7 separate regions of the Homo sapiens genome follow, and all the other regions are linked to region 1. The links are contacts of gene promoters, found by promoter capture Hi-C in blood cells and fetal thymus (Javierre and others, 2016). All regions are on one chromosome and are shown on one strand. The core of a region is centred on a gene start or on the middle of the fragment in contact, and the rest is flanking DNA. Distances in the headings are between cores, read along the strand shown. Region 1 holds the start of ATOSA (atos homolog A). Region 2 overlaps LYSMD2 (LysM domain containing 2). Region 3 has its middle 4.7 kb from the start of TMOD3. Region 4 overlaps TMOD3 (tropomodulin 3). Region 5 has its middle 5.5 kb from the start of LEO1. Region 6 holds the start of MAPK6 (mitogen-activated protein kinase 6). Region 7 overlaps MAPK6 (mitogen-activated protein kinase 6).

Region 1 (4,335 bases), core at 864-3,363:
TCATAGGATAAAAGAAAGCGATAACTATTGTCAGAGTCTAAACACCTCACTTTTATAGGTGAAACAAAGGTGTTAGAATGTGACTTGATTAGGGCCATGTAACTGTAATAGTACTATAAGCTCCTTGAAAGTAGTGACCCTATCTGGTTTTGGTGACCTTTACATTCTCAGAGACTTGTATGAGCCTAGCAGGTAGTATTCAGTAAATGCATATTATGGAATGAAACAATTTGAATAATGAGTCAGAAATACACCTTTTAAATACTTTTTCTGCTGCCATAATGATTTCAAATTTTTGAACAGGTTTAAGATTCTAAATTTAAAAAAACTTCAGGTTAGTCTAACAAATGTTGACATCATCATTTACCCAAGTGCTGTTAAAAATTATTTAAAAGAGAATAGTTTGTGCTACACACTAATAGTCTTGGCTTCTGCTCTCAACATTTCCTGGTCTTTTTACCTCTTTTGCATTAGATAGAGGAAGAAAGAAGCTAAACCAGATTTTGCTGCCTGTTCACCCAGTAAGCCTTTTACAATAGCTGTTATTTGGTCCCAGCTGTTGTGCTAAATTTAGGTTTTTGGCTTATCTGTAACTGTTCTGTCTCCCATTACCAAGTGCTTGTAGAACAAGTAAAACTTCAGTTCATTTTTTAAAAACTACATAATACAGTATTCAATAATATCAAAGTCAAATCCACTGGGATTTAACATTTGTAGCATTTTATAGATTAAAGAACTGTTTCCATTTGTCAGTTTCATCGTCATGATGCCAGAACATTTCAGAGAAAATGAAATGTTACCCTCCTGAATGTTCTCTCCGCTCTGATTAGATACAATCGTGGAGTTAAGGTTAACAATTTCAGTTGTACATGTTATTTTACTGTACATATCTAAGCACTAGAAAATGTTACTTTTTAAATATTTCATGCCTTTTTCATAAGAACTTTACCTGAGGCCAAAAAAATGGAACTGCCAATCTTGCAGTTTATAAAACTCTTCTGATGTGAAAATAATAGACTCATTGTAAAAAAAATTTTAAAACAGAAGGGCACAAATAAAAAAAATCCCCTTAGACTTGTCCTAATACTTTCCTGTGATCCTTTTATGCAAAATTATATCTAAAAAAAAAACTTTTTCTAATGAAACCAAAGAGCCTTGCAAATTTTTACTTGTCTCCATTTGGGCTCATGCCCCATATGTACTTTGTCTATAGACTGAGTAGCTAATAGCTGCAGCGCTTGTTAGGATTGGGTTTTTTTTTAAGTACAGCAGATTCCTGTCATCTGTTTGTGTTTAAATGACGACAACATCACAACATGAAATGCCATCATGTCACATTGCTATAGCACAACAACAAAATTACAGCTCCCCAACAATAACATGCTGTCAAAGTGTCCTCCTGCCCATGAGTCAGTGTTTTAGAAGTTATGAAGATTATTTTTAGCACAGCGAGTGTCTTGGAAGCTTGGGTTCTGAATCCTACTAAAATCCTTAGTGATTTGGGAAAATCTAGGGTGGGGGTGGGCTTCCTGTTCTTAAATTCTCCCACTCCCTGACCCGCATAGCTGCCCACCCCCCGTCCCGGTCACATTAAACCCGGGTTCCATTATGCGCTGCAATCCACTTGGGGCTCGATCACAACTCTGTGCCAGCATCCCGGGAGGAGGAGGAGGAGGAGGAGGAGGGGGGGAAGGAGGGGGAGGGGGGAGGAGGAGGAGGAGGAGGAGGAGGAGGAGGAGGAGGAGACGACGACTATAATTATCCTCCACGTCTGGGGCAGGCCTTTGGATGACATCTCCCCAGTTACCCTGCGCTCTAATAGCGCAGCTCCGATTCCTGGTCTCAGAATCCAGGCGCGCCTCTGCCGGCTGGGAGCGCAACCGAAGTGCCTGGGACGTCTCGGGCTTCCGGGACTCTGCTGGTGTCTCCCAGCCGCCATCTCCAGCGCCCTCGCACCCGCCGGGCACCTGCACCGAAAACCCGGCCCCAAACTAGCGCCCCGGGGCGAGCGGCGGCATTGCCATAGTAACCGGGCGCCAGGGCCGCGGAGGCCGCCGGGGAGGAAGTGACGACCGGGGTGGGTTGGCTGTTGTTGGGACACGTGACCTAGGCAGTGTTTTGACAGGGCAAACAGCAGAGAAAGAACTGGCCGAGCGAGGGGGACGGGGAGCCGGGGCGCCAGAGCTAGAGACAGCGGGCGGGCAAGGAGCTGGCAGAGGCGCTGGGCAAGAGGGCCGGCCGGGGCTACGGGCGGGGGAAGCCCGGGGGTCGCGGGGCTCGGGTGCCAGTCAGGCAGGGCGGAGGGGCTGAGCGCAGGGAGCGGAGCGAGGCGGTGGCTGAGGCGCGGGTGGATGGCCACAGGGGCGCCGGGGAGCCGCTTCGGGCTGGTCGTCTCGGGTCCCCACGGTCACCTGAGGCAGCCGCGGGGGCCGCTGCGCTCCATACTCCGCTCCCGCTGGCCCTGCGCCTCTCGGAGCCTGGGGTCTGAGGTGGGAGTGTGATGTGAGCTGCTGGGCGAGCGGTGGAGAGAAGTGCCAAGAGGAGGCGGGATTGGGACGGGAGAGGAGAGCGAGTTAGTCAGCAGAGGTCGGCCGAGGGAGCGGAGGAGCCGGCCAGCTCGAGAGCGCCATGAAAACAACTCTCCAGCGGGGAGAGGGGCAGACGCGGCGCTCGGTGCGGCGGGGCTGAAGGAAATCCGGGGCCGCGGCGGGACGGAAGGGGTTGTGCAGAGCAGGGGGCGAGCACAGGCTGTAAACACCTCCCCCGGAGCCGGCCGCGGAGGACTGGTTGGGAGTTGGTAGGGTCGCCCCGGGACAGCCCGGAAGAGTTCGTTTGGGGCTGGGGGCTGGGCGGGAGGAGGTGACTCGGGTTTCTGTGTAAACTTGGCCGCGGTTGCCGCAGGAAGGCTAGCCAGAGGGTAATTACACAGGTGAGGCCCGGCGGGGCGGGCGGAGGGCTCGGGAGGCGCAGGGGACTGGAAGAGTTGGCTGCGCCCAGGCACCAGGTGGAAGAATTTCCATACCAGCCCTGCGGAGGTGCCTCTGTTTCCAGAGGCGTTTTTGTACGAAGGGGTTAGTTTGTGTTGCTCAAATCTTTTTCTTCTTCTTGCCTGTACCTCCAGGTTATAAATAGATCCTGTTTTGGTTCAGAGACTGTGTCAGAAGGACACATTGGCCTGGAGAGCACAGAGGCAGGGAAGGGGGTGCTCGATCCGGAGGAGATGGGGGAGGCGGTGCAGAGAGTTTTGCTTTTTTCAGACCAGCCGAGGGTGCTGTCACCGCAGTTGGTGCCAGGAAGAGGCCTAACTTAACAGTAGTTTACTTGCAAGGTCCGGGTATTAGAATAGGGCCAGATTAATTTTATTTTTGTCTCTTTCAGCATTTTGAAAGCGAAGCAGAAGCCGTAGAATCAGCGGCGAGCCTGTTGAAAGAACCCACAGGTGCATTTCACAGCACTCTGGGCGAAAATTGGATGTGAAAATGAAGCCAGACCGAGGTAAATGATTTGTTTAAGTAGGGCTTGTTCCCCCACCCCCTTCTTTTCTATGCCTCAATTTAGAAGTGTTAACCTAATTCTGCAGTAGGATCAACTATTTCTGTATCATATGTGATTATCTGTTTTTGTGACAGATTCCAGCTGGTGAGGTAGAGAAAGGCATATGGAAGAGAAGGTTAAGCGTTTTTACAAAAGTGCTTCTGAAGCACTAGCTTCAAGAGAGATTCTAGTGTATCTCAAAATGAAAGTAAAGAATGGTATTTGTATCTGTTGCCACAATACAGGTATCATTTTAGAGTTGTACTTGCTCGTTTTTAGGTAGTCAATCTAACTTCAACTTTCAAGAAGTTCATAAGCTTTTTAAACTTGAATGTGAACTTGATAAAATGAAGAGAAAACTTAAGCTTGAGTTGACAACTGTTATTTTATTACTACTTTGATTAGTTGATTTTTGTGCTTTAAGCAAACTCCAAAAGTTTGCAGAGTACTCCAGTATTCAATATACCAGCATATGGACAGTTTGGGCCACTGAAATCCCTGGTGATAAGTAAATGTCACTTCTTTTCTAAACCTGTATTTTCAGGATTTATAAGAATAATATATACACTGCTTTTCAAGGACTTCAAGGTAATTCTTTATCAGTCTTCTGATTAATGGCAAGAACCAATTTTAGAAGATGTTAATATAGTAGTGGTTAGTAGTGAGAGCTTTTCAGTCAGATATGAGTTTGATTCCAAGGAACATTGTGAAGTGGGGATTATTTTATTTGGTAGGGGGCTGGACTAGATGACAGATTTCCTTCCAAATCCAAGTCTTTAGGATTGGAAATGTTAATTTATC
Region 2 (4,335 bases), core at 1,196-3,695, 950 kb after region 1:
CAGCAGAATACAGATAACACTCTCAGAGGATGTGGCCGAAGAGAGTTTAATAAAGGGACATTTACTGAATGTGGGCATAGTTGAGGGAACCAACAAGGGAAGTTGAAGCACCCAGAGACTAGCAATAGCAGGGAGACATTACCCCTAGGCCTGAAGGGCCAAGGGAACACTGGCAAGATCTGGAGCCTTGGATCTGGGACTCCTGATAGGAACTCTCACCAGAGAGGAATGCAGCCACTGGTTATGGTAAGGTCGTTCTGCTGCTGTTTGAAAACCAACTGGAATTCCAAGGACAAGGGGACCTGGGTAATGCCGTTCTTAAAAAGTCAGCCTCCTAGGGTTTAGAATAAGCCCAAGAAGAGTGGAGGAATGGATTGGGAGGGGAGAGTGGGTTTGAAAGGAGAATAAGCAGCACGACAGATAACTTACTACCCATTTCTGATTACTTCATCTTCCATGCCCACTCCTCTGACCTGCGTTAATTCATCCATCCATCCATCCTTCCATCCACCTGTCCATCCATCCTAAGCACTTAGTGTGTATGAGATCTTTGTCAGACCAGGAAGGCTATAGCAATAACCAGTTCTTGCCCTCAAAGAATTAATAGTGTACTCTTGCAGTTCCTAGCTCTGCTCAGCAGTTTGGATCCTGGTCCCATCTGTTTCTGTCTTCCATCATTATTCCCAGGAAGCAATGACTATTAGCAGTCGTAGTCCCCTTCTGATAAGCATTTCAAAGGGCACTGTATCAGCAAGAGCTCTTTCAGCTACAAGTGACAGAAAACCTAACTCAAATTGGCCTAAACAAAAAACAAACTCCAAGTGGAGTTTAGTGGATCTTGGAACTGAGCATGTTCTGTCTTCAGGCTGTGATCCAGAAGTTCAAATGCTCACCTCTAAGGTGACTCCAGTATCAGATTCCACAAGGTGCCAGGATGACTGCCAGCATCTCCAGCCTATCTCCTTCCAGCAGAAAGCAGTAGAGAACTCTCCCCTCGACTACCGTCCTGCAGGAGTCTCTTTGCATGTCTGAATGATTCTGTCATGGGTCTGTGATCTATCACAAAAGCCTGTGATGCTCCCCAGGGCAGGAATGAGTCATATGCTCACTCTGGAGCCAGGGGAGGGCTTAGTGTCATTGGAAGCCTATGCACTAAGAGAGATAGAGCAGCTGGATGCTTGGGGGCAAGATCTAGGGGTCCTAAAGGCGAAATAGCAATAGGTATACCTGAACCTGCTACGGGCAAAGTGTCCAAGTTATTAACCCTTTCAAACCTGAACTAGACCAGAGATACTTGGGGTTTTTAGATTTTAATTTTGTCTCTAAAAGGCACCTGCCCATGTTTATGTTCTCTTTCTCCCCTTAAACTAGAAACGAGAACACAAAAGACCATCCTTTTTAAAAATCTCATTCCTTTAATGGAGTATCTTTAGAAGAAAAAAGAAAGCTTTACATGTACTATTTGCATGGAATCAGCTTATAACAAAGCAGGATGAACAGGGTCCACTTAGTTGACTGTTGTTTTTGCAGGCTTTTTGAAGTAGAAATACAATTTTTTTGTTTTTACTCAGAATTCATTTGGCATTAAAGGCTCCCCATAATGTGATTTCATTAGTTGTGTACTTTAATTCAGATGTTGTACGGACTTCGGAGTCAGACAAAAATCCCATTTTAAACATTTAAAGAGCCATATGTACTTGGTCAAATCTACCATCTCTTTTGTGTTTTGATTTCTTCATCGCAAAGTGGAGAGTAGTAAGTACCATCCACTGCCAGACACTCTAATCACTACTTTCTCTCTCTCTTTCCATATAGATATATATGGGAATATATGTATAGAATGTACATATATTTTTATATATTCTCTCATATATATATATTTCCTTGATGTGAGTGGGTATATAAGCTCTCATTTAATCCTTGCAACAACCCTGTGAAAGGTAGATGGTACCTGTTTTACACATGAGGAGAAAGGATCAATGATATAAGTAACAAGCTCATGTTCATACAGTAACTGTATTTACTAAGTACAGTTCTAGAGACATGGGAAGCACTTCATAAGTAAAACAGCAGCAATGGTAAGTTTAAAAAAAATCAGATAATAGAAATGTTAAAACAAGAATGGAATTTATTAAGTGCTAAAAATTTTACATTTTTAAACTTCAGAGATTTAAGTCCACTGATGTTAAAAGCTGCCTTGTAGTAGAAATAGTATAATGTGGAAAAATTAGTCTGTCCTTTTTAAAAATTGGGAAACAATTCTCCAACATCTCTTGAAATAACTAGAGATATCTGGGGAGGTTACCAAACCTGAATGAAGAGTCTCAAATCCCAAGAAAGCATTGTGTACATTTTGCTTATGAATATTGGTAGTTCTGTATTGTATAATAAATCTTACTCCTTGACTTGGTTATATGTAATTCTGTGTCTCCTTTTTTATATTTTAGATGGAACAGATTAAAAGGGCCAATAAACTGTTTACCAATGATTGTATATTTCTGAAGAAAACTTTGAACATCCCAGTTATATCAGAGAAGCCTTTGTTGTTTAATGGACTTAACTCCATTGATTCTCCAGAAAATGAAACTGCTGATAACAGTTTTTCTCAGGAAGAGGAGCCAGTGGTGGCCGGGGAAGACCTCCCTCCTCCCAGTCCTCAAGAATCTGATGTTCAGCCTGTGCAGCCTGAGGAAGTGTCAGCCAGAGATTTCCTGCAGAGACTTGACTTGCAGATTAAGTTATCAACACAGGCAGCCAAGAAGCTAAAAGAAGAGAGCAGGTAAGAATACCCTGGTACAAATGTCAAAGTCTAAATAAATCACTATTAAGATGTCCTTGCTGGGCCAAATCTTTCTTTTCTCTTTTCTTTGCCTTTTCTTTTCTTTTCTTTCTTTCTGATTTTTTTTCTTTTTTTCTTAATTTCTTTCTTTCTTAATTTCTTCCTTTCTTAATTTCTTTCTTTCTTTCTTTTTTTGCTTTAAAAACTGCATTTTAGTTCTAGAAAGGCATTTTTAGTATATAAACTCTAAACAGAGCTGCTGCCTGATGCACAAGGCTTTATCTGTTGCAGTGTTTTTATCTGTTATTTACTATAAAAAGTTTGCTTCTTTGCTTTAATAGCGTCACTGTCCAGCTAGCACTTCTGGATAGCGGCAAAATAAAAGTGTCTCTCTCACTGACACTTTCAAGAGAAGTAGTGTCATAGAAAATACTTGTAAAATATTGATAGTTGCAAAACTTGTCAAAGACATTGTCTGTTATTTGTTACTGGGTGTTTCCTACATAAGATCTCATGTGAACTTTTTTCTTTGTTTTTTAAATTTGATATTAGGGCAAATCTTTCTCTCTCCTATAGAATTGGTTTCCTTTTTTCTTTATGATTTGATTTCAAAAAAGTACAATCTACTGTGTTTCCTTTTTTGCTCTGGCTATTGGGAAGCTTGCAACTAAAATTGATACCTGTGTTCAACTCCTATAATATTTCTTATGATTAATACATTGGTTTCCTTCTCCTTTCCTTAGTCCTGATTTTTTTATTTCTATTTTATTAATCTTATTGTATATATGCCTTTTGTTGTTAGTACCTTAAATCCTTTTGGGAAAGAGGTAGAATATAGAAAACATAAACAAATATAAATATGAATATAATTTAGTATAGATTTAAAATATATGTAAATATAAGCAAATATAAATACATAAATGAATGACATTATTTATTCTAATAACTGAGATATGAATAAAATGGAGATAGTAAGGTATGTCTTAAGTATTGGCATTTCATACAGTTGTCTAGGCATGCACAATATTCTAAGTTGATATATTCCTTCTTTGGCAAGTGGATATTGTATAATAAGTTGATGTTTTAGTTTTCTGCATACAGTTCTAAACTCTGATTTATGCTGTATTTATTTTCTTTCAGAGATGAAGAAAGTCCCTATGCAACTTCCCTCTATCACAGTTAGGTGATTTGGGGGCATAACTCTAACCAAAATTAAGATATGTTTGGACCATAAAGAATCCAACAACTGAAGATTCAAAAACATCCCTTCTGGATTCCTATAGTGTCCATCTTAAAATCATAACTAGGTAGTTCTACCTGCTGCAGTTGCACTGAAGTGATTAGTTCCCTCTGGCTTTCTATAATTTTAAGTCTTTATTATGGCATGATGGCAAGGTTGTAGCCTAAAGCTCATCACTTTTGTAGGTGGTGTTAGTTTTTAGACTAGCTTTTATAAATACTAATTGACATAAAGCATCAAAGATTATTTATATATTTAGGCTAAAAATAATGTTTATCTCCTTATGCAATCCTGATTATGTGAAAATATGGTTGCT
Region 3 (4,335 bases), core at 460-2,959, 850 kb after region 1:
CTGTCTGTCGCCCAGGCTGGAGTGCAGTGGCGTGATCTCTGCTCACTGCAACCTCTGCCTCCGGGGTTCAAGCAATTCTGCCTGCCTCAGCCTCCCTAGTAGCTGAGATTACAGGCCCCCCACCCCACCACACCCAGCTAATTTTTGTATTTTTTTAGTAGAGACGGGGTTTCGCCATGTTGACTAGGCTGGTCTTGAACTCCTGACCTCAGGTGATCTGCCCACTTTGGTCTCCCAAAGTGCTGGGATTACACGCGTGAGCTACCACTCCCAGCCCAGAATGATCTTTTAAAAACAAATCAGATCATATCACCATCTTGCTCCAAACCGTTCATGGCTTCCATCACATTTAGAATAAAATCCATAATTAACACCTCTACAAATCTGTATATGATTGTTTTGTTTCCTACCACATATTCTCTCTGATACTGCTCTAGTCATACTGGCCTCCCTGAGGTTTCTTAATCCTGCCAAGTTTCTCCCCATCTCAGAGTCTTTATGCTGTGCAGGAGAATGATTTTCCTCCCAGATGCTTCTAGCTCATGCCCTCATTTTAATGAAGGTTCTGCTCACATGTTACCTCTGAAAGTCTTCCTCTTACCACCTTACCCTGCCATTCTCTCCTTTCTTTACTTGTCGTCATAGCACTTTTACCACATAGCTTCATATTGCTTGTTTCCTTAGTGGAAGCTCAACAAGCTTTGCTTTGTTTACTCCTCCATCCCTAGCATCTACAATACTGCCTGCACACAGAAAGTATTCAATAAATATTTGTAAATAAATGAATGTTGGGTTCTTCCCTCTCTCTCCTACTCTCCTCTTGGGACACAGACCCAGAAGGTTCACCTGTAAATGCCAGCCAGTGACCTGATTTGGATGTAAACACCAGCTGCAAGAGGGTTGACTACACAGGAGAATAAGATCCTGTGAAAGTCCTGAAATAGAGACAGAGCTCTCTTTTAAAAAGGCTATAATTTAGGGTTGCCACTATTCCCTTAGAGTTGGAAACATAATTCTTGGAGGAAAACAAACAGGAAAAACATGGAAATTAGATTTACATAAATAAGTGAAAAGGTAAGTCCACTAAATACCTGTGGTAGATTGAAATATTGTTCCCACATATTTGCTCTCCTTTAGAGGAATAGACAGGCTTGCCCACTACTATGTGACTTCCAGTGCTGCCCCGCAGGCATTCCAGGCTTGGCTATGATCCCATGATGGGATTTTCCTCCTCTCTTCGGTTAAATGTCATATTGTAATCACAAAGTTTAGAAACATGAATCTTGCTTTGGTCAATAAAATATAAGTGGAAGGGACAATCCGACAGTTCTGGGTGGAAGCTTTAAGAGTCACTGCCTTTCTCTACTAGTGTGCCTGCTCTTTCCCTCCACCAAGAGAGACAAGTTCTGAATAGAGGCTGGTCCTTCTGCCTGGGTTCTAGAATAAGAAATTACATGGATCAGAGCCTCAGCCACTAGCTGACATAATATATAATGTGAGCGAAGGGGAAACTGAGGTTTAGGTTCGTTTGTTACTATAGACTTACTTAGCAAAAGCTGACTACTATAGTGCCTAATCAAAGAAACATGATGATCTGAACTAGAAGTGGTATGGCACCCCCAACCGTCTGCATTTAACCCACTTCAAGTAATGGAAAACTGTTGAAGTTCAACAGGCTAACACACTACAGAGAACAAATCTGAGGCCTTCAGGTAAAATATTTGAACAAGGGACAGAGTATGGTTCCCATTAGTGTTCAGGGTTTGGTTAGAGTGAAAGTGATTGATAAAATGACACTTCAACTCTACTTTATGTGTTAATATTACAAGCTCTAATTAGTGTTATCTCTAAACTTCCAGCCAGAATAACTCAGAAAGCATGTCACACTGAATCATCGTATGCTAATTAATAACAGCAGCACTTTTCTTGTTATCAAAGAGTTCCTTTAGGAAATAGTTACTTTGGTATATGTAAGCATATTTTGTGTGTATGTAAAAACGTGTATTTATAGGAGAGCTGAGAAAAACTAAAGACAAAAATTTGAAATGAAAAGGGAAGGATTTCATTATGGAAGCTTGGAGGTAGGAATCCTATGGAAGCAGTGGGAGGTAGCAATCACAGAAGACAAACATCATGGCTGGGTACATACCGGTTTTTTTTTTTTTTTTTTTTTTGAGATGGAGTCTCTCTCTGTCACCCAGGCTGGAGTGCAGTGGCGTGATCTTGGCTCACTGCAAGCTCCACCTCCCGGGTTCACACCATTCTCCTGCCTCAGCCTCCCAAGTAGCTGGGATTCCAGGTGTGCACAACCATGCCTGGCTAATTTTTGTATTTTTAGTAGAGACGGGGTTTCACCATGTTGGCCAGGCTGGTCTCAAACTCGTGACCTCAGGTGATCTGCCTTCCTTGACCTCCCAAAGTGCTGGGATTACAGGCATGAGCCACCACGCCTGTGTGCATACAGTTTTACAGGAAAGATTCAAGCACACTTTTTGGCCTCAAGTGCCCCTTTTTCTATAACCCATCTCTGCCTGTTAGAAGCCTCCTCATGTTTCATTGTCCATCTCAAATGTCTGTTCCCCACTCAACCTTCACTAATGCCATCAGCTGGAATTAATTTTGCCTTTCCCATATTTTCATACCCCATTATGCCTCCATTAGAAGTGCACTGAATACACATTTCAGCCAAATGCCAAAAGGGCCAAAAAATAAGTCACTCTTCAGCTGAAGCCAAAGTTGATGACAAACATCACTATTAAAGAATAAACTTCTGGGATATGCACATAAACCTAAAATATTATCCCCAAATTTTAATACTATTTTAATAATATTAAAAATGTTAGTGCTAAAACTGTTCAGTTTAACATTTACTATAGAAGCAATAAATTCCCAGTGCTGTCCATTGTTAGACTCTCCTACAGTCACTGCAGAAAGCCAAATTTCAGCTCAGGTGAGTGAATGAATATGATCCCTGTCATAAATGGAATTAAATAAGAATTAAATTCAGGTCTTTAAATGATAAATGCTAGATGCCCCAAACCCTTCTACCAAGACCAGAGTTGTGATATGATTTAACTTCTGCTTACTTTTCCTTGTCTTTATTTATTTTTATTTATTATTATTATTTGTTTTTGAGACAGAGTCTCACTCTGTCGCCCAGGCTGGAGTGCAATGGCACGATCTTGGCTCACTGCAACCTCCACCTCCTGGGTTCAAGCGATTCTCCTGCCTCAGCCTCCTGAGTAGCTGGGACTACAGACGTGCACCACCACACCTGACTTATTTTTGTATTTTTAGTAGAGACAGGGTTTTGCCATGTTGGCCAGGCTGATCTTAAACTCCTGACCTCAAGTGATCCTCCAACCTCGGCCTCCCAAAGTGCTGGGATTACAGGTGTGAGCCACCGCGCCTGGCCTCCTTGTATTATTTGAATTTTTTATAAACATTTATTGGCTTGAAAACAATGTATTGTTTTTTCTAGGTTATCTAGCCAATGGATTCCTTCTTGATATTTGTAGTGATTGTCAGCTTATTTTCCTATTTGCTTAAAAGTCTTAAATAATTGTTTCTTTTTGTCTTTTACTAAATTCTTATTGATACATTATAATTGTACATATGCATGGGAGTACATGTGATATTTTGCTACATGATACAATGTGTAATAATCAAACCAGGGTAATTGGTCATCATCTCAAACATTGATTATTTCTTTGTGTTGAGAACATTTCAAATCTTCCAGCTATTTTGAAATATGCAATACATTATTGACAACTACAGTCACCCTACTGTGCTGTTGAACCACTAAAACTTATTCCAAGTGTATTTTTGTACCCATTAACTAAACTGTCTTCATTTTTATCCTCCTTAAGTTTTTAATTTGTTTGTTTGTTTGTTTGTTTTTAGATGAAATCTCGCTCTGTTGCCCAGGCTGGAGTGCAGTGGTGCGACCTTGGCTCACTGCAACCTCTGCCTCCCGGGTTCAAGTGATTCTCCTGCCTCAGCCTCCCGAGTAGCTGGGACTTCAGGCGTGCACCACCACACCCAGCTAATTTTTTTGTATTTTTAGTAGACACAGGGTTTCACCATGTTGGTCAGGCTGATCTCAAACTACTGACTTCAAGTGACCCACCCACCATGACCTCCCAAAGTGCTAGGATTACATGTTTGAGCCATCGCACCCAACCAGTTCTTTAGAGAAGTTTTACAAGTGTTTACCCTTCAAAAAGCTTAAGGTTCTATAAAAATGTTATGAACCTTTCCTAAATTCCTGGCTTTTAAAGTGATGCATCCATAAGTGAGCCTAAGTACATAAAAGAAACTTGTGGTATCAGGAGG
Region 4 (4,335 bases), core at 545-3,044, 830 kb after region 1:
TGCCTTGGCCTCCCAAAGTGCTGGGATTACAGGCAGGAGCCACCTTAGTCCACATCTTAAGAGACCTATTAGACACAGTGTCTGGCCATAAAACACTTTCCTCACTTGGCTTTGGGGACATCATTTTTTCTTGGTCCTTCCTCCCTGACTGCCCCATCTCATTCTCCTCTGCTGGTTCCTCCTCATCTTCCTCATCTTCAAATGTTGGAGTGCCCCCAGTACTTAGTTCCTTGGACAGCTTCTCTTTCTATACTCACTGCCTTGGTGATTTCATACACTGATAACTTTTAAATTGATATCTCCAATCTGGACCTCTCTCCTGAATTCCATACTTGCAAATAACTATCCATGTAAAATCTCCACTTGGATGGCTAACAGGTTTCTCAAATGTAAACATACAAAACAGACTCCTAATTTTCTCCCCCATACCTGCTCTTGCCATGTTTTTCCCATGTAATAAACAGCAACACCATTCTTTAGTCTCTCAGGCCAAAAATCTTGGAGTCAACTTTGATTTCTCTCGCACTCCACACATGATCCACCCAGCAAATCTTGCTGGTTTTACCTTTAAAAGTCATCTCTTTACCATCTCCACTGCTTCCTTCCACTCTGGTCCAAGCCATTATCTCCTCTTATCTGGGCTATTGCAATAGCTTCCCAACTTCCGAAAGAAGCTGATCGGGAACATACTCCAATAAACACTCCTCTGAGTGCCAGCCAATCATAGTCATACTTCTACAGATTATGTTAACCCACTACAGCCTCAGAAAGTTTGCCAATCCCTGAATTCCACAATTCCCCAAAATTAGAAATTGGCCTGCTCTTCTTAGAGAAACTGTGTCTAGCCAGCATTGCTCTCCCTTATTACAGTAAGCATTAAATTCAGCTTTGCCTTTGTTTCAGATATTGACTGGCAGTCATATCCTTTCATGCTGAAGAAAACTTCTGGTGATTATATATGTTTACTTTTAAATAAAACTATTTCAGTGTTGACACATATTAATAGTAGTTAGGATCAAAATATTCCCTTTGGATGAATATCCATGTAAACTTTTGAAGTAGATACGGTTCACTAGCCAACAATTTCCCAAGTATCTGCTTCAATTTACTTCAATTAAAAAAATTCAAATTGACATTCCCTTTTCTGTTTGGCATGGTTCAAAATTAATCTGGAAATAATGTAACAATAAGTTATCTCCGGCTGGAGATTTTAACATTCAAAACATCAAAATACTCTTCTATTTAATGTTAAGGTTGAGTTTCATCTCTGCTGGTTTGAAGAACATTCTCTTTGATGGAGAAGGCTAAGGTAAAGACAGTCATCTATGTATTCTTGGGATTGTTGAGGCTGAGTATGAATATCTGTCAGGGACAATGTGGCAGATTCCTCAAAGGCAAGGGAGTTTCAAGACTCTCATAAGGTCATTTCCTTTTTATAAGCTTATAATTCTAAATAACACTAATTATAAACAAAGAATATATTCAGTGTCTGTCTTAGCCCATTTAGGCTGCTATAACAAAATACCATAAACTAGGTAGCTTGTAAACCACAGCAATTTATTTCTCACAATTTCCAGAGGCTGAGAAGTCCAATAAGACACCAGCAGATTCAGAGTCAGGTGCGAGCCCACTTTCTGATTCACAGATGGAGCTGTGTCCTGAAATGATAGAAATGCAAGGCAGCTCTCTAGGGCCTCTTTTATAATGGCATGAATCCTACTCATGAAGGCTCTATCCTCACGACCTACTCACCTCTCAAAGGCCCCACCTCCTAATACCATCATATTGGTGATTAGGTTTCAGCATATGAATTTTAGGAAGGTACAGACATTCAAACCGTAGCAATACCCACCACGCTCAAAGCACTGTATTGGCACACATATTTACCTTCTAAAAAATGCCCATTTTATTTTAGTTGTATATAACGTATATTACTTTGATAGCAAATGGAGGAGGATAGAGATGGGGTCTTGCTTTGCCCAGACTGGTCTCTTGGCTTCAAGTGATCCTCCTGCTTCAGACCCTCAAAGTGCTGGAATTATAAACGTGAGCCACCATGCCTGTCTAAGACTTTTTTAAAGGAAATATACTGGATGCTAAATTTATCCTTTTGTTTGGTTCACTGATTCTTCTATATAATGAAGCTTAAAAGACAGTATTTTAATAATTTTTGTGGCGTTTTGGGGATGCTACGGTTTGTTGACTCAGATATTAGCACAGCTCAGTGAGATAGCTGCTTTGCACACAGTAGTTGAAAAAATAGTGGTTGATTATTCTGTGTAAAAGTCCCATGGAAACTAATCAACCTAAGTAGCCCTGTCTTTCCTGCCATTGCTACCAATGCCATCTTGCATTTTAAAAAATGAAATTTATAGATTGCAGAGAAAATAGTTTGAAATCTGAAGGCAGTGCAGAAAAACTTGTTAGGGCTAGAATAAAGAAGAGATGTAATTAGAAGCAGATCACGGAGGACTACCTTAAAGTAGAAAGTAGCCAGATTAGTTCTGTGATTATTACAAGAAAATACTTGACAGGTTATTCATACCACTTCAAAAACAATCTTTCAACAAGACCCTGCTGAGAGACTTCGTGGCTCTCTTGTAGGTGCCCCACTTCCTTTTCTGACGAATAGTAGCAAACCAGCTCCCAGTTCTGTCCCACCTCCCCTTTTTCTTCTTCTTAGTGGAGCTGCAGCATCAGAGACACAGGGCAAGGTCAAAGAGGAACCCACTCTGTGCATACCAAAGATGGATGCCAAAATAGCCACACCCTTAGCATACCCAGTTTCTCAGCACCAAATGTTTTTCAGTTTTTAATTTTTTGGTTTGTTTGTTTAATAGACTGGGTAGACTGGGAAATGTTTTTTCCCAGTTGTTGCAAACTCAAAATATCTTTAAAAAAAAGAAATGACATCATACGAACAAGTCTCTGATGGTAATAAGGTTACAGAGTTCTTTATCTCTGCTGGTTAACTGAAAAAGAGACTTCTACCAGTCCTACTGTGAACAAAACCAAATATGATATGAAGTGGCTTACAGGGAAAGATTTATCAATGCTCAGCCATCAATCAAAATGCTGAATCCATGCCAAGTGCATAATGGTGAGATTAATCTGAGAGTTTTCTTTCTCTCCCCCAAAGGGAAGTATCACCATGACTCATTTTTCCTCTTGCAAGAATTTTCTTAATCCACCAAGTTAGTAAGCATTGAAGAACACATAAAACCTAAAATAAACTAGGCCAGGTCTAAAAGAAATCATGCTGAGAGCAAGTTGAATGTTACGCAGTGAACAAAAGGTATTATTTTTCCTCAGTTTCAATCCTTCCAAATTTCCTGGGCTTCAAACTAGATTTGTTTTTTGTTTTGTTTTGTTTTGTTTTGTTTTGAGCCTGTTACCCAGGCTAAAGTGTAGTGGCATGAACATGGCTCATGGCAGCCTCAAACTCCCGGGCTCAAGCAATCCTCCCACTTCAGCCTCTCAAGTAGCTGGGACAATAGGTGCGTGCCACTATGTCTGGCTAATTTTTATTTTTGTATTTTTTTTTTTTTTGGTAGAAATGGGGTTTTACCATGTTGCCCAGGCTGGTCTCAAACTCCTGGGCTCAAGTAATCCATCTGCCTCTGCCTCCCAAAGTGCTGGGATAACAGGTGTGAGCCACTGCGCTCAGTCAGTAGTGTACTTTTAAATTTTAATGGAAAAATCTTCAGTCTTAAAAATAGATTTTTAAAAGTTTTTAATTTTAGCTAGATTATATAACTGAAGCTCCCTTTCTTTGCTAGAATAAGGAGAATTTTCTGTACCTTCTGACTCCTTGATTGATTACTCCGAAGTCCTTCTCCAAGCTCTATAACAAACTGTGACAAACCTATGTAATTAATAGGATTCAATTATCACCAGAGGAGGAAAAACAAACAAAACCCAGAGGAAACCAAAATTCTTTCCTTGTTTTATTTTTTGAGACAGAGTCTCCCACTATCACCCAGGCTGGAGTGATGACAGCTCACTGCAGCCTCGACCTTCTGGGCTCAAGCGATTCTCCCACCTCAGCTTACTGAGTAGCTGGGACAACAAGTGTGTGCCAACCATGCCCAGCTAATTTTTAAATTTTTTGTAGAGATGAGGTCTCACTATGTTGCCCAGGCTGGTCTAAAATCCTGAGCTCAAGCGATGTTCCCACCTCAGCCTCCCAAAGTACGGAATTACACATGTGAGCCACTGTGCCTGGCTGGAACCAAAATTCTTCAGGAGAAAAAGTCTAGCACTTAGTTAGCTCCCAGCATCAGACTGAGGGTGAGCGGATCTATGGACTTAGGGGTTCTGACTTTAATCTCTTCT
Region 5 (4,335 bases), core at 1,339-3,838, 700 kb after region 1:
TTACTAAAATTATTAGTGTGTGGTGTTAAGTTTTAAAAGTCAAATAATCCTACTAAACTGAAAATATGTTTATGTTATTATGTCTGAGCAAGTCTTCTTAGCTGTGTAGCTTAGGGCAAAGTTTCTTAGCTTCTCTGTTCTTCCTTCTCCCTTTCTTTCTTTCTCTTTCTTTCCTTCCTTCCTTCCTTTTCTTTCTCTTTTTTTCTTTCTTCTTTCCTTCTTTCTCTTTTCCCTCCTTCCTTCCTTCCTTTCCTTCCTTCTCTTCCTTCCCTCCCTCCCTCCCTTCCTTCCTTTCTTTCTCTCTTTTTTTTTTCAAGGTCTCACTCTGTCACCCCGGCTGGGGTGCAGTGGCATGATCATGGCTCACTGCAGCCTTGACTTCCCAGCCTCAAATGATCCTCATGCCTCAGCCTCCCAAGTAGCTGGGACTACAGGGGTGAGCCACTATTCCTGGCTAATTTTTTTGTGACCAGGTCTCACTATGTTGCCCAGGCTGGTCTTGAACTCCTGGACTCAAACGATCTGCCCACCTTGGCCTCCCAAAGTGTTGGGGTTATCGGTGTGAACCACCATGCTTGGCCCCTTCAAATTCTTGACATGTAAAATGGGAGGAATGTAATGTAATCTATGTTATAGGGTTGTTGTGAAAATGGAATAAGTTAGTTCTAGTCCACAATCCCTTTTTCAAAATTCTGAAATCCAAAAATCTCTGAAATTGTTTTCTTTTAAAAGTTTTTTTCTTGTTTTGTTTTTTTAATGGGGTTATAAGGTAATCCCCCCAAAAAATCTCTGAAATTGAGCGTACTTTCATAACTCATTTTGGTGGCAAATGCTGACCCAAACTGATCTAAACCTATTTAAACTTTATCACTCTTAGTTTGAATTTTCATACATTTTACTATAGAAATTTAATTTTGATTATAGGATGCTGGTCAGCCCCTGCTGGGTGTGGTAATAGAGTTTAGATACCGTATTACCTTTTTGAAATCTGGGCATGGTGGCTCACGCCTGGAATCCCAGCATACTGGGAGGCCAAGGCCGGTGGATCACCTGAGGTCAGGAGTTTGAGACCAGCCTGGCCAACATCCCAAAACCCTGTCTCTACTAAAAATACAAAAAATTAGCTGGGTATGGTGGTGTGTGCCTCTAAGCCCAGCTAGTCGGGAGGCTGAGGCAGGAGAATCACTTGAACCCAGGAGACGGAGGCTGCAGTGAGCTGAGATTACACCACTGTACTCCAGCTTGGGCGACAGAGCAGGACTCTGTTACAAAAAAAAAAAAATTAAACTGTCATCAGTAATTCCTTTTGCTTCTTTCCATTGTTGGTTTTCCTATCTCAACAGCTTTTCTCTTCCTTGGTTTAGTGGACCACCTCATTTTGGTGGACAATTCATAGACTGTAAAATATTTGAGCAACCTTACCAGTTGCTAAGGCTGCATAACAAAATACCTCAAAACTTAGTGTACTATGCCACAGCACCCATTTATGGTCTCCTGGTTACTCTGAGACAATTGAGGAAAGGCTCAGCTGGGCACTTGTGGCCTGGGCTCCTTCACTGAGGTGGCATCCAAATGGTGGCTGGGGCCAGGTATGGTGTCTTGTTCCTATAATCCCAGTACTTTAGGAGGCCAAGGTGGGAGGATCGCTTGAGGCCAGGAGTTCGAAGTCATTCTGAGCAACATAGTGAGACCCTGTCTCTACAAAAAAATAAAAAGTTAGCCAGGTACAGTGGCACATGCCTGTAATCCCGGCTACTCAGGAGGCCGAGGTGGGAGGATCAGTTGAGCCCAGGAGTTCAAGGCTGCAGTGAGCTGTAATCACACCACTTGACCTCCAGCCTGGGTGACAGAGGGAGACTTTGTCTCAAACAAAACAAAACAACAACAACAAAATAAATGGAGGCTGGAGTAGGAACTGTAGGAGGGCGATAACAGATGGGGGTTGGCCTGGCATCTCTCTTCATTTGGTCTCCCTGTGTGGCCTCCTTTGGGCTTTTTCACAGCATGGAGCCTCAGGGTAGTTGCACTGCATACATAGAGGCTAGTTTCCTTCGGATACCATTACTCTTTCCTTTATTTAATGATAGTTTGGTGAGTACAGAATTCTAAGATGGATCGGCCGGGCGCAGTGGCTCACGTCTGTAATCCTAGCACTTAGTGAGGCCAAGGTGGATGGATTGCCTGAGCTCAGGAGCTCGAGACCAGCCTGGACAATATGGTGAAATCCCGTCTCTACCAAAATACAAAAAATTAGCCGGGCGTGGTGGTGTGCACCTGTAATCCCAGCTACTCGGGAGGCTGAGGCAGGAGAATTGTAGAACCTGGGAGGCAGAGGTTGCAGTGAGCCAAGATCGTACCACTGCACTCCAGCCTGGGCAACAGAGAGAGACTCCATCCCCCTTCCCCCAAAAATAATAATAATAATTCTAGGATGGATAATTTTCCTTCAGAATTTTATTTTATTAATTTATTTTTTTGAGACAGAGTCTTGCTCTATCTCCCAGGCTGGAGAGCAGTGGCTTAATCTAGGCTCCTGCATCCTCCGCCTCCCGGGTTGAAGCGATTCTCCTGCTTCAGCTTCCTGAGTAGCTGAGATTACAGGAGTGCGACCGCCAAGCCCGGCTAATTTTTGTATTTTTAGTAGAGATGGGGTTTCACCATTTTGGTCAGGCTGGTCTTGAACTCCTGACTTCATGATCCGCCTGCCTCGGCCTCCCAACGTGCTGAGATTATAGGTGTGAGCCACCACACCCGGCCTCCTTCAGGATTTTAAAGACAATTCCACATAGTTCTAACTCTCAGAATTGTTTAGAAATCTGACAACATTTTAATTCCAGATTCTTCATATGCCAGCAGATTTTTCTCTCTAGAAACTTTTAGAATTTTTTTTTTAATCCCCAGTGTTCTGAAATTTTATAGTGAATCAGGGAATGAATTTGATAAGCTGGTCAATGTTCTTGTTTGAGTTTTACGTTCTGCTCAATTTTATGTCTCAATAACTGCGTTCCCTCTGGTCACTTCATTAATATAGTTTGAATCTTCCTAAGAAACCTTTCCTGACTAACCCCCATCTTCACTGATCATTTTCTGGCTTTCAATTTTTAGTACCTCTACATAGTTTATAATTAACTTCTTTTTTTTTTTTTTTTTTTTGAGATGGGAGTCTCGCTTTGTCACCCAGGCTGGAGTGCAGTGGCACGATCTCAGCTCACTGCAACCTCTGCCTCCCGGGTTCAAGCGATTCTTCTGCCTCAGCCTCCCGAGTAGCTGGGACTACAGGCATGTGCCACCACGCCCGGCAAATTTTTTATATTTTTAGTACAGATGGGGTTTCACCGTGTTAGCCAGGATGGTCTTGCTTTCCTGACCTCGTGATCCGCCCGCCTCGGCCTCCCAAAGTGCTGGGATTACAGGCGTGAGCCACCGTGTCCAGCCCCCCAAACTCTTTTATATGAAGAAATATGTTTGTCATTATTTTTATATCCCTATAGCACCCATTGTGGGACCCTAATTCAGTAATTCAGTAAGGAATCCAGTAAAGGCAGACTGTTAGTGAATATCATGTGTCTTCCAAGAAATCAGCTGAGTATTTACTTACTGCTATAGAGAGAAACTACAAGGTTCCTCTCTTGCTCTCTTTAATTCAGATCAGCCTGTTCCCTTCTAAAGGCCAACTCCTTCCACAAAGTGCTCAGAAAAGCCACATGATCCTCCTGTGGAGTGGCAGTTTACCATAAATGGAGTGAATTTTCAGTGAATATATTCTGTTTAATCAATCTGTTATTTTTCCTCTAAGTCGTTAAGGTGTTACACAAATTTAAAAACATATATTCCTTTTTGTGTGATTTGGTGTAAGTATATATTTTATACTTTTTTTTTTTAGACGGAGTCTTGCTCTGTCTCCAGGCTTGAGTGCAGTGGCGCGATCTTGGCTCACTGCAACCTCCGCCTCCCGGATTCAAGCGATTCTCCTGCCTCAGCCTCCTGAGTAGCTGGGACTACAGGTGCATGCCACCCCACCCAGCTAATTTTTGTATTCTTAGTAGAGACGAGGTTTCACCATGTTGGCCAGGATGGTCTTGATCTCTTGACCTCGTGATCCACCTGCCTTGGCCTCCCAAAGTGCTGGGATTACAGGCGTGAGCCACCGCGCCCGGCCTGTTGAGTATTTTTTTGATTACCTTGTAAAAATGTTTGTGATGATACATTAATTGTATTGTGTTATGTACTCAACCTCATTGAATCTTTGTTCTTCGGGTTCTATGGTATCTAAAAAGATATTATTCTGAGGATCTAGCTTCACCTTATGAAAGCAGAACGTTCTTTCAAAAACTG
Region 6 (4,335 bases), core at 518-3,017, 660 kb after region 1:
TTCCAGTGTTTTCTTCTCAACAGTAATACCTAGGTGATCAAATATGTTCTGCTCAAATCTGGCATATTTTCTAGATTAACTGCAATTACTGAATTCAGGACATCAATGAATAATTTTACAAGCTTAAGGCAATTCTTAATAAATGATGTAACATATGTGAAATGACTTTACAATCCCTGGCACATAGCAAACACTTCATAAACATGTTTGAACAACTACTATCTAAAGACAAAGTTCCTTTCACCCAATTCAAAATTATTTTTTAAACATTAAAATCTGATATTTCTATGAAGAAATTCCTGATTTCAGGGCCAGGCCCTGTTTGGACCCTACATTCTTCTGGTCAGATCATTCTTTCCATCTCAGTTTTCCAGCGTTAAAGAGGGAGGACATGTGCAATTGGAACTGTAAGAGACAGGCTAGAAGAATCAGCCATCAGAAAATTACTCTGAAGCTGCTTGCTCTTCATTGTATGGCGTGTTAATTTTTCCCCTTGACAAATCATCTGTATCCGTTAAAAAAAAAAAAGTCATTACTGAGACTGCATCTTTAGCAATGAACACGAATTCTGCCGTTAATACAAGTAGGCTTCTAATTCCAACTCACCAGTCCCTTTCACTGGACCTTTTCCAATGAACAAGCAAAAGAAAAAATAAAACAGGAAAGGAATCAAGAAGCTCCCGCTGCACAGAGATCCCCCTAACACCTAAACCGGTTGGGTCCTACACTCGCCAAGAAACAAAAGGATGCCAAAACACCTTTACTTTTCGACACAACTCACAAGGCGGACTAAAATGCACAGCAAAGTGACAAGGCCCTTTTTGGTGAACCGACAAAACAAGCTTTCATTTGGGCACTTTTACAGACCACCACTTAAGGTCCCGAAAGAAGCTAAGGAAAGACTGTAGGGCCGAGGGAGGAAATTAGGAATTTCGTCTCCGAGTTTTCAGTACCTCATTCATGGCAAGACTCAAAACTTGGGCGGACTTCAGGGCTCTGAGACGAGCCGGGTGAGCGCTGCGCGCTACGCCACTGGAGACTTTGCCCGGCCGGAGTCAGCTGAGGCCGAGTCACCGGGTGGGATGGGGGAGGAGACGCGGGAGCATTTCGAAAGGCAGCGTGCCAGTAAGGCGAGACTCCACGCCACCTCATGTTCCCCGGGCCGCCGCCCCTCGCTCGCCCGCCCTCCGGTCCGGTCCGGCTGGGTTTCGAACCCGCGGAGCCAGGCGCAGGCGGCGGGACGGCAGCAGGCGTGCGGGGCCAGGGAGCGGGCGCGGCCTGGCAGGGCGACCGGCGAGGGGCGTGCCGGGTGGGAGGGGCGCGCTGGCCGCCTGGCCGGCCCCACGCGGGGACCCCAGCCCGCCGCCCGCCCGCCCGCGCGGGGACGCGCCGGCCAGGCCCGAGCGGGCGGGCAGGCGGGCGAGCAGGGGGCGGGCGGCAGACCGAACAAAAACGCCTTTGTTGAGCGGCAGCCGCCGGAGGGTCACACACAATGGAGGAGGGAGCCGGCTCCGCCGTCGCCGCCGCCGCCGCCGCCGCCGGGCCCGCCGCGGCGCCCTCCCGAGCCGCCCCGCCGGCGCACCCCGCACACGTACACACACACACTCACGGGACTTCTCCGACTCATCGAGAGAGTGCGGGGCTCGCGGACTGCCCCCAGTGTCGGCTCAGGTCTCCGGCTGTGCTGGCGGCAGCGGCGTCTCCGAGGCTCTCGCTTTGCCGCAGTCGCCGCCATGTAACCCCGACCCGCGAGAGAGGGCGAGGAAGAGGGGGCGGGGCTTCGCGGTGCCACGCCCCCTCACGTCACAGGCTCACTCCACGGGTTCTCCCGCCCCCGCCCTGCCCAGCGCACCCGCACGCGCCGGAATTTCCAGCGCCCGTGACTGGGCTGCGCGCGCCGCGGAGGCGGTGGGAAAGGCACGCGGCTCGTCCGGCGTCTCCTGGGGGCTTTGCCTGCGGGCGGGCAGGGAGGAAGACAGCTGGGGCCGTTTGCTCTACTACCTGCCCTGGCATTAAGGGAACAAAGTGACCAAACCCAGTGCCAGCGTTTACTAAGCACCTACTACGTGCAAGGCACTGGGCAATCCGAGAGGAAGAGGCCTCAGTCTCCAGGAAGGGTGGACCTTAAGATGGATTGGCTGGAAGGCGACAGCCCGAGCACAAGACAGACGCGTTAGAGGCCAATACTAAGGTCATTCATTCTGCCAGAGTATGGAGGAAGGCTTTCAGGAGTGGTCGCCAAGGTGGCCTTTCAGCTGGATCCCGGAGGAGCGGATATAACCAGGAGGTGGGGAGGGTGTTTCTGTGAGCAAAGACTGGGAGGCCAGAGTACCTGGCTTGTTGCAGGAACTGGGATAGGACAATTTGAATTTGGGAAGGGATGCACTATGAAACGTAGAAAGGTGGATGGGTGCCTTCTTGGGCCCACTTGGCTAAAAGCAAACTTACATTACTTATCATGGCTTATTGAGTCCAAGGAGCCTTTTCAGTGTTTATGTGAAATTTAAGTATTTATGAAATTAGAGACGCAGGTCAGCATATTTTTTCAATGACTTCATCACCATCTTGCTGAGAACCAGACATAGAATAGCCCTTCTAGTCATTATTATGGGCATCTTCAAGAAAGAGGCAAAGACCACTTCAAAAAGATCACAAAGGGCCAGGCGTGGTGGTTCACGCCTGTAATCCTAGCACTTTGGGAGGCCGAGACGGGCAGATCACCTGAGGCCAGGAGTTCGAGACCAGCATGGCCAACATGGTGAAAGCCCCGTCTCCACTAAAAATACAAAAAGTAGCCGGGTGTGGTGGCTCACACCTGTAATCCCAGCTACTCGGGAGGCTGAGGCAGGAGAATAGCTTGAACCCCGCGGGGGGTTGCAGTGAGCCGAGATCGCGCCAGGACACTCCAGCCTGGGCGAAAGGGCGAAACTCTGTCTCAAAAAAAAAAATCACAGAGTAATGAAGTTAAGTGGTTGGGGTGAGCTTGAATGCTTTATATTTTTTAATATTTAAAACAACGTCAGCTGAGTACCAGGTGTGAAGAAGAGGTAATGAGTGAAAAAAACCAAGAGAAAGGGGAGACTTGTTCCAACCGCAGAATTTCCAGCTTCTGCAACGAGAGCTCGTACCTTCAGCCCCACTGCCTCTGCTCTAGGCTCTCCTCTGATCCTCAGGACATTTTTCCTCTCACTCTTTGAGAACTCGTTTACCTTCCTTTTCCATCAATGTCTGATCACCCAGAGAAGGTGGGAGAATAAATACCAAGCACTGTGCCTTCCCTCAAGGAGCATTTAATCCAGTGTCACTGCTGACTTCCTGTGGATAATGCAAAGTTGGCTTACAATAGTAAGGGAGACCACTAAATTGACAGAATCTTTGTAGCATTTCAAAAGGGTGTCAGGCCTCTGAGCCCAAGCTAAGCCATCGTATCCCCAGTGACCTGCACATATACATCCAGATGACCTGAAGCAACTGAAGATCCACAAAAAAAATGAAAATAGCCTTAACTGATGACATTCCATCATTGTGATTTATTTCTGCCCCAACCTAACTGATCAGTGTACTTTGTAATCTCCCCCACCCTTAAGAAGGTTCTTTATAATCTCCCCCATCCTTAAGAAGATTCCTTGTAACTCTCCCCACCCTTGAGAATGTACTTTGTGAGATCCACCCCCTGCCCCCAAACCATTGCTCTTAACTCCACTGCCTATCCCAAAACCTGTAAGAACTAATGATAATCCACCACCCTTTGCTGACTCCTTTTTCAGACTCAGCCCGCCTGCACCCAGGTGAAATAAACAGCCTTGTTTTTCACACAAAGCCTGTTTGGTGGTCTCTTCACACGGACACGTGAGACAAAGGGGAGGTCAAGGATGGAATAATTACAAGATTTGGGGGATCTGGTTTTTGTTTGTTTGTTTGTTTGTTTGTTTTTGAGACAGAGCCTCGGTCTGTCGCCAGGCTGGAGTGCAGAGTGGTGCAATCTTGGCTCACTGCAACCTCTGCTCACTGCAACCTCTGCTCAAGCGATTCCCCCGCCTCAGCCTCCCGAGTAGCTGGGACTACAGGTGCGCGCCAGCACACCCAGCTGATTTTTGTATTTTTAGTAGAGACGAGGTTTTACCATGTTGACCAGGATGGTCTCGATCTCCTGACCTGGTGATCCACCAGCCTTGCCCTCCGAAAGTGCTGGGATTACAGGCATGAGCCACCACACCTGGCCCAGGGATCTGGTTTAAGACTGGTTTTTCAGTGAGGGGTCCTGATTGGGTTTGGGACAAATTTGTGTTATAATAGTTTAAGGTGGGTGGGCAGAGGAGGGGGAGAGTTTTGAAG
Region 7 (4,335 bases), core at 1,187-3,686, 640 kb after region 1:
TCAAAAAGGAAGTCTAGATGTGCAAAGAAAGTTTGAAGTAAGGGCCATAAACATAAAGGTTACTTTTTCTGGTTTTCTCCTCAACCTTCTGCTCTGCTGCTTCTCAGGATAAATGCTGACATGGGTCATCTGGCCTGTTCACATTCACTGACAGCACAGCACTTCCCCCATCCCCTCTCCACAAAGGCTCTTATTTTGCTCTTCTCCATAGTCAAGTGAGTAATTTGAGTTAACAGGAACCTAGCCAGCCTCACATCTCCTCAGCCAAAACCCAGTTGCTTTTGGACAGAAGGGAAAGGTTGAGCTTTTCTTATATTCACCTAGGGCTATCTCCTAACCCTGGCACAGATAAATGTAGCTGTAGCAAATTCACCCTTCCCTGAGATCATGTCTCAAGCTCTCATCAAAGCTACTAAGATTTTCGGGCAGAGAAGGCCAAGTGCTACAGCTTAGCTGCTTGCTCACTGCATTTTTGACAAAGCCCTTGCTCCTAATGTATGGTGGGCGGCCATAAGAGTTATCAGGGGCCCTTTCAGGATTTGGACATCAAGGAGGCTGGGAGTATAAACTATTAACAACAAATAATCTTAGGAACCTGGGAAAAGACATGGGACCTTAAATCTAAAATGCCAAAGTCTGAAAGGCTTTGGGTAGTATCAGTAACTATGCTTATCTACAGAGACAAACTTTCAAAGTCAGAGAAGACAGTAACAAAGTATCCAATTTAAAGACAAAACAGGCTGGGCGTGGTGGCTCACACTTGTAATCCTAGCACTTTGGGAGTCCAAGGTGGGCAGAACACCTGAGGCCAGGAGTTGGAGACCAGCCTGGCCAACATGGTAAAACCCCTGTCTCTACTAACAATACAAAAACTAGCCAGGTGTCGTGGCTCACACCTGTAATCCCAGCTACTCAGGAGGCTGAGGTTGGAGAATCGCTTGAACCTGGGAGGCGGACGCTGCAGTGAGCTGAGATCACACCACTGCACTCCAGCTTGGGCAACAGAGTGAGACCCTGTCTTCAAAAAAAAAAAAAAAAAAAAAAAGACAAAACACTCACCTACTACTACCAATTTGTGTTCTTAAATTGTTTAAGCCCTTGCCTACATGCATTTTAACATTAGGGGCTTTCATTTGCCTTTGGCCATTTAAAAAGCCATTGTAAAGCACATGCCATTATGTTTATTTTGTTGCTTATCTCTAGTTGTTATTTTCCAGTATGGATGACTTACAGTAAATCTGTAACCAGATTACAACTAGTAAGTCTAGTTACAGCCAGGCGTGGTGGCTCATGCACTTTGGGAGGCCAAGGCGGGTGGATCACCTGCGACCAGCCTGACCAACATGGTCAAACTCCATCTCTACTAAAAATACAAAAATTAGCTTGGCATGGTGGTGCACTGCTGTAATCAGCTACTCAGGAGCTGAGGCAGGAGAATCGCTTGAACCTGGGAGGTGGAGGTTGCAGTGAGCCAAGATCGTGCCACTGCACTTCAGCCTGAGGGACAGAGGGAGACTCCATCTCCTAGTTACAGATTTACTGTAACCCATTCATATTAGAAATTCAAAAATTCATAGACCAGATAAACTAGTAATAACATCCCTATAGACTCTTCCAATTCTAAGTCTATGATTTACAAGTCTTATATTTCTTTAGTTTTATTCCCAAGCCCTGTGGTGGTATGCTCAGAATGGGAGAGATGTTATTCAAATTGCTGTATACTAAACAAATATAATCCCTTCTACAAACTTACGGCTGGAAATTTTTAAATAATTATAATAACGCTTGATCCCATTTCTTATCTTCCTCCCGGCAGGAGGCTTTATTCTAAGATTCCTAACCTAACTAACATTAAAGAAATATTGGAGCAAATATAGGACAGGAGACATGTGCACAGCCTCTTTCTTCAAGCACCTTTGGACACCTGAGGATTCTAACTAGATGAAAATATAAATTTTCAAAGCAGTCAGGATAATAGATGGCCCCCAAAAATCTAAGTCTTGCTCATGCCACAAGTTCAACGTAGCTGTCAGCCAAGCTGCTAAAGTACCCACCATCTCTACCAATTACATGCAATGTAGCAGAGAAAAGTAAGACTATCTCACTGGCAAAAAAGCTTCCATCCAAAAGTGACACCATTCACTTCTCACATTTTACTGACTAAAGTAGGTCACATGGTCATACGTATACCCAAGGGAGTGGGTAAATGCAATCCCAACATGGGCCCAGAAGCAGAATGAACCAAGATGTTTTTAAAACATCTTTTAAACAGACTAAACAGATTCAACCCTCCCATCCATCCATTACGTTTCATTCAACATTTTACTGAATGCTTACCATGTGCCAGGCATTGTTTTAGGCATTAAGCTATAGCAGAGGTCAATTTTTTTTTTTTTTTCAATCTTGAGCTCAAAGGAACACATTATTACTCCTGGAGCACAGGGGCATGTAGTGGATTCCTCCCTATCTAACATTTCACTTTTCTTTCTCCTCTTTCTAATAACATTTTCACTCCCTTTTCTTTTGCCATCCTCCCCCAACCTAATCTAATGTGATTCTTCAGAACCTCTACTCTTCATTTTCCAGGGCACCATTCCCCTCCTTTTTTCTGTGGCTTTGTCTATGATAAAAGGTTTGGGACTAAGTAGCTTTGGGGACATTTCCTAAGCATAGTACCTGGTAATTAGTAGGTACCCTAAAATATGTACTGAATGAATCAATGTAAATAGCATATTCTACGTGAGTAGAAAGCTTTGGAGAAGGGAAGTCCTATCCTCGAATTTTTCAGAATCTGATCACATTCTGATCTACCACTAGAAAACATCAGTGAAGATTCCCAGATATGGTATTTTCCTTTCCAGGCATTCCACCAGGACCCTCACTCTATGCGAATGCACAGGTCTGCCAACAACATGAAGAAGGCAGCTGGTTTCAACCCACTCAGAATGAAGAAATGAAACACTTCAGCTTTGTTACAGCTCTCATCTTATCTTGTTGAGGTGATGGGGAGGGACTGTGCCACTGAAATAGCATCCTATATAATCAGTCAAGCAGGACTCTAAAAAGTCCTATCAGCCCATGTAATACCAAAGAAGGTATAATGAAGATATGCAAGACCTTGACACTATTCTTCAGTCCATCCTAGCAGGGTTTAGCACCACAGCTTTTCAGACTACAGATCAAACGTGACTGCTGTTGTTTTTGAGCTAACTCTGGTGAGGGTCTGAAGAAGGTCACATTATGCAAGGCCATATAAAACATCTCTGGACTCTCAAATGGAGAGAACCATATGCTTACTTGGAGATTCTCTTTAAGAGACAGGGTCTCACTCTGTTGCCTCAAACAATTCTCCCACTAAGCCTCCTGAGTAGCTGGGACTATAGGCACACACCACGTTCAACTTTTTTTTCTTTTTCTTTTTGTAGAAATGGGGTCTCACTATGTTACCCAGGCTGGTCTTGAACTCCCGGCCTCAAGTGATCCTCCCACCTAAGTCTTCCAAAGTGCTGGAATTACAGATCAGCCCCGCATCTGGCCAATTCCCTAATTTTTAAAAACAATTCAGAATGGCATGTTATTTTTTTGGAATATCCTTCCTCTTTATTTCTCATTTTCTCCAAACTGAAGAAGGCTTACAAGATTTGGCTGCCCTGCCTATGGAGTAGCCATTCTTTTATTCCTTTACTTTCTTAATAAACCTGCTTTCACAAAAAAAGGGGAGGGGAGGGGAGAGGAGGGGAGGGAAAGAAAGGAAAGAAAAAGGAAGGAAGGAAAGAAAGGAAGAAAAAAAGAAAGCTTGCGAGATTTAAAAACAAAATTTTAAGTTGGTTTGCTATCAGATCCATACAAGAATTTGGCCCTACTGAAAGAGTCCAGTCTTTCACTAGGCCCGTGCCATGCTTTGAATGTGTCCCCCAAAGTTCATGGGTTGGAAGCTTAATCCTCAATGCAAGTGTTAGGAGGTGGGGCCTAATAAGTGGTGATTATTAATCACTAGTAAGAAGCAGATGGGTTAATGTCATTATTGTGGGAGTGGGCCTATTATAAAAGCAAATTTGGCCCTCTCTTTCTCTTATACCATGGGCTGATGCAGAAAGGAGACCCTCACCAGATGCCGGCACCATGGTATCAGACTGCCAAGCCTCCAGAACTGTAAGAAATAAATTTCTCTTCTTTATAAATTACCCAGTCTCAGGTGTTGTTTTAGCAACATGAAACCAAGAGGGACAGCTTATATTAAAGGAAATAAACCATAAGTTTAAAGATCTGGGGTCTACTCCAGGATCTGTGGCTACATCAGCTGTGTAGTCAAAGAATTTCACATTTTTATGTCTC

The links. The method cuts DNA at HindIII sites, captures the fragments that hold promoters and counts their contacts. A CHiCAGO score of 5 or more calls a contact.
Region 2: a contact is called between a fragment that was not itself captured here and the fragment with the promoter of ATOSA in region 1, in 1 of 17 cell types (total CD8 T cells). The highest score is 5.1, in total CD8 T cells.
Region 3: a contact is called between a fragment that was not itself captured here and the fragment with the promoter of ATOSA in region 1, in 1 of 17 cell types (activated CD4 T cells). The highest score is 5.8, in activated CD4 T cells.
Region 4: a fragment that was not itself captured here is called in contact with the fragment with the promoter of ATOSA in region 1 in 1 of 17 cell types (activated CD4 T cells); the score reaches 5.4 in activated CD4 T cells.
Region 5: a fragment that was not itself captured here is called in contact with the fragment with the promoter of ATOSA in region 1 in 1 of 17 cell types (fetal thymus); the score reaches 5.1 in fetal thymus.
Region 6: a contact is called between the fragment with the promoter of MAPK6 here and the fragment with the promoter of ATOSA in region 1, in 6 of 17 cell types (fetal thymus, naive CD4 T cells, total CD8 T cells and 3 more). The highest score is 8.8, in fetal thymus.
Region 7: a fragment that was not itself captured here is called in contact with the fragment with the promoter of ATOSA in region 1 in 1 of 17 cell types (total CD8 T cells); the score reaches 6.1 in total CD8 T cells.

Annotation. Positions count from the first base shown.
Region 1 is chr15:52,677,166-52,681,500 of GRCh38, reverse strand. It overlaps ATOSA (atos homolog A), which reads left to right and starts at 2,113. Exons shown (of 13, transcript NM_001385016.1): 1 at 2,113-2,673; 2 at 3,379-3,495. The coding sequence starts at 3,480. LOC105370821 (a long non-coding RNA gene) reads right to left here and starts at 1,896. Exons shown (of 4, transcript XR_932255.4): 1 at 1,808-1,896. RefSeq lists a silencer at 2,178-2,497 and enhancers at 3,078-3,217, 3,348-3,417. The HindIII fragment of the contact is 2,387 bases long and covers 1,467-3,853 here.
Region 2 is chr15:51,723,234-51,727,568 of GRCh38, reverse strand. It overlaps LYSMD2 (LysM domain containing 2), which reads left to right. Exons shown (of 3, transcript NM_153374.3): 2 at 2,448-2,779; 3 at 3,920-4,335. The coding sequence ends at 3,962. Among named protein-coding and RNA genes, the nearest start is that of LYSMD2, 12 kb to the left of the region's middle. RefSeq lists a silencer at 1,097-1,156. The HindIII fragment of the contact is 1,992 bases long and covers 1,450-3,441 here.
Region 3 is chr15:51,822,752-51,827,086 of GRCh38, reverse strand. No RefSeq gene overlaps it. Among named protein-coding and RNA genes, the nearest start is that of TMOD3, 4.7 kb to the left of the region's middle. The HindIII fragment of the contact is 734 bases long and covers 1,343-2,076 here.
Region 4 is chr15:51,845,368-51,849,702 of GRCh38, reverse strand. All of the region lies in intron 1 of TMOD3 (tropomodulin 3), which reads right to left. Among named protein-coding and RNA genes, the nearest start is that of TMOD3, 18 kb to the right of the region's middle. The HindIII fragment of the contact is 704 bases long and covers 1,443-2,146 here.
Region 5 is chr15:51,975,085-51,979,419 of GRCh38, reverse strand. It overlaps a transcript of MAPK6 not described here. Among named protein-coding and RNA genes, the nearest start is that of LEO1, 5.5 kb to the right of the region's middle. The HindIII fragment of the contact is 8,624 bases long and covers 1-4,335 here.
Region 6 is chr15:52,016,651-52,020,985 of GRCh38, reverse strand. MAPK6 (mitogen-activated protein kinase 6) reads right to left here and starts at 1,767. Exons shown (of 6, transcript NM_002748.4): 1 at 1,610-1,767. MAPK6-DT (MAPK6 divergent transcript) reads left to right here and starts at 1,891. Exons shown (of 2, transcript NR_156732.1): 1 at 1,891-2,287. RefSeq lists enhancers at 707-756, 2,097-2,166 and silencers at 1,007-1,516, 1,817-1,926. The HindIII fragment of the contact is 8,244 bases long and covers 845-4,335 here.
Region 7 is chr15:52,036,220-52,040,554 of GRCh38, reverse strand. All of the region lies in intron 1 of MAPK6 (mitogen-activated protein kinase 6), which reads right to left. Among named protein-coding and RNA genes, the nearest start is that of MAPK6, 19 kb to the right of the region's middle. The HindIII fragment of the contact is 635 bases long and covers 2,119-2,753 here.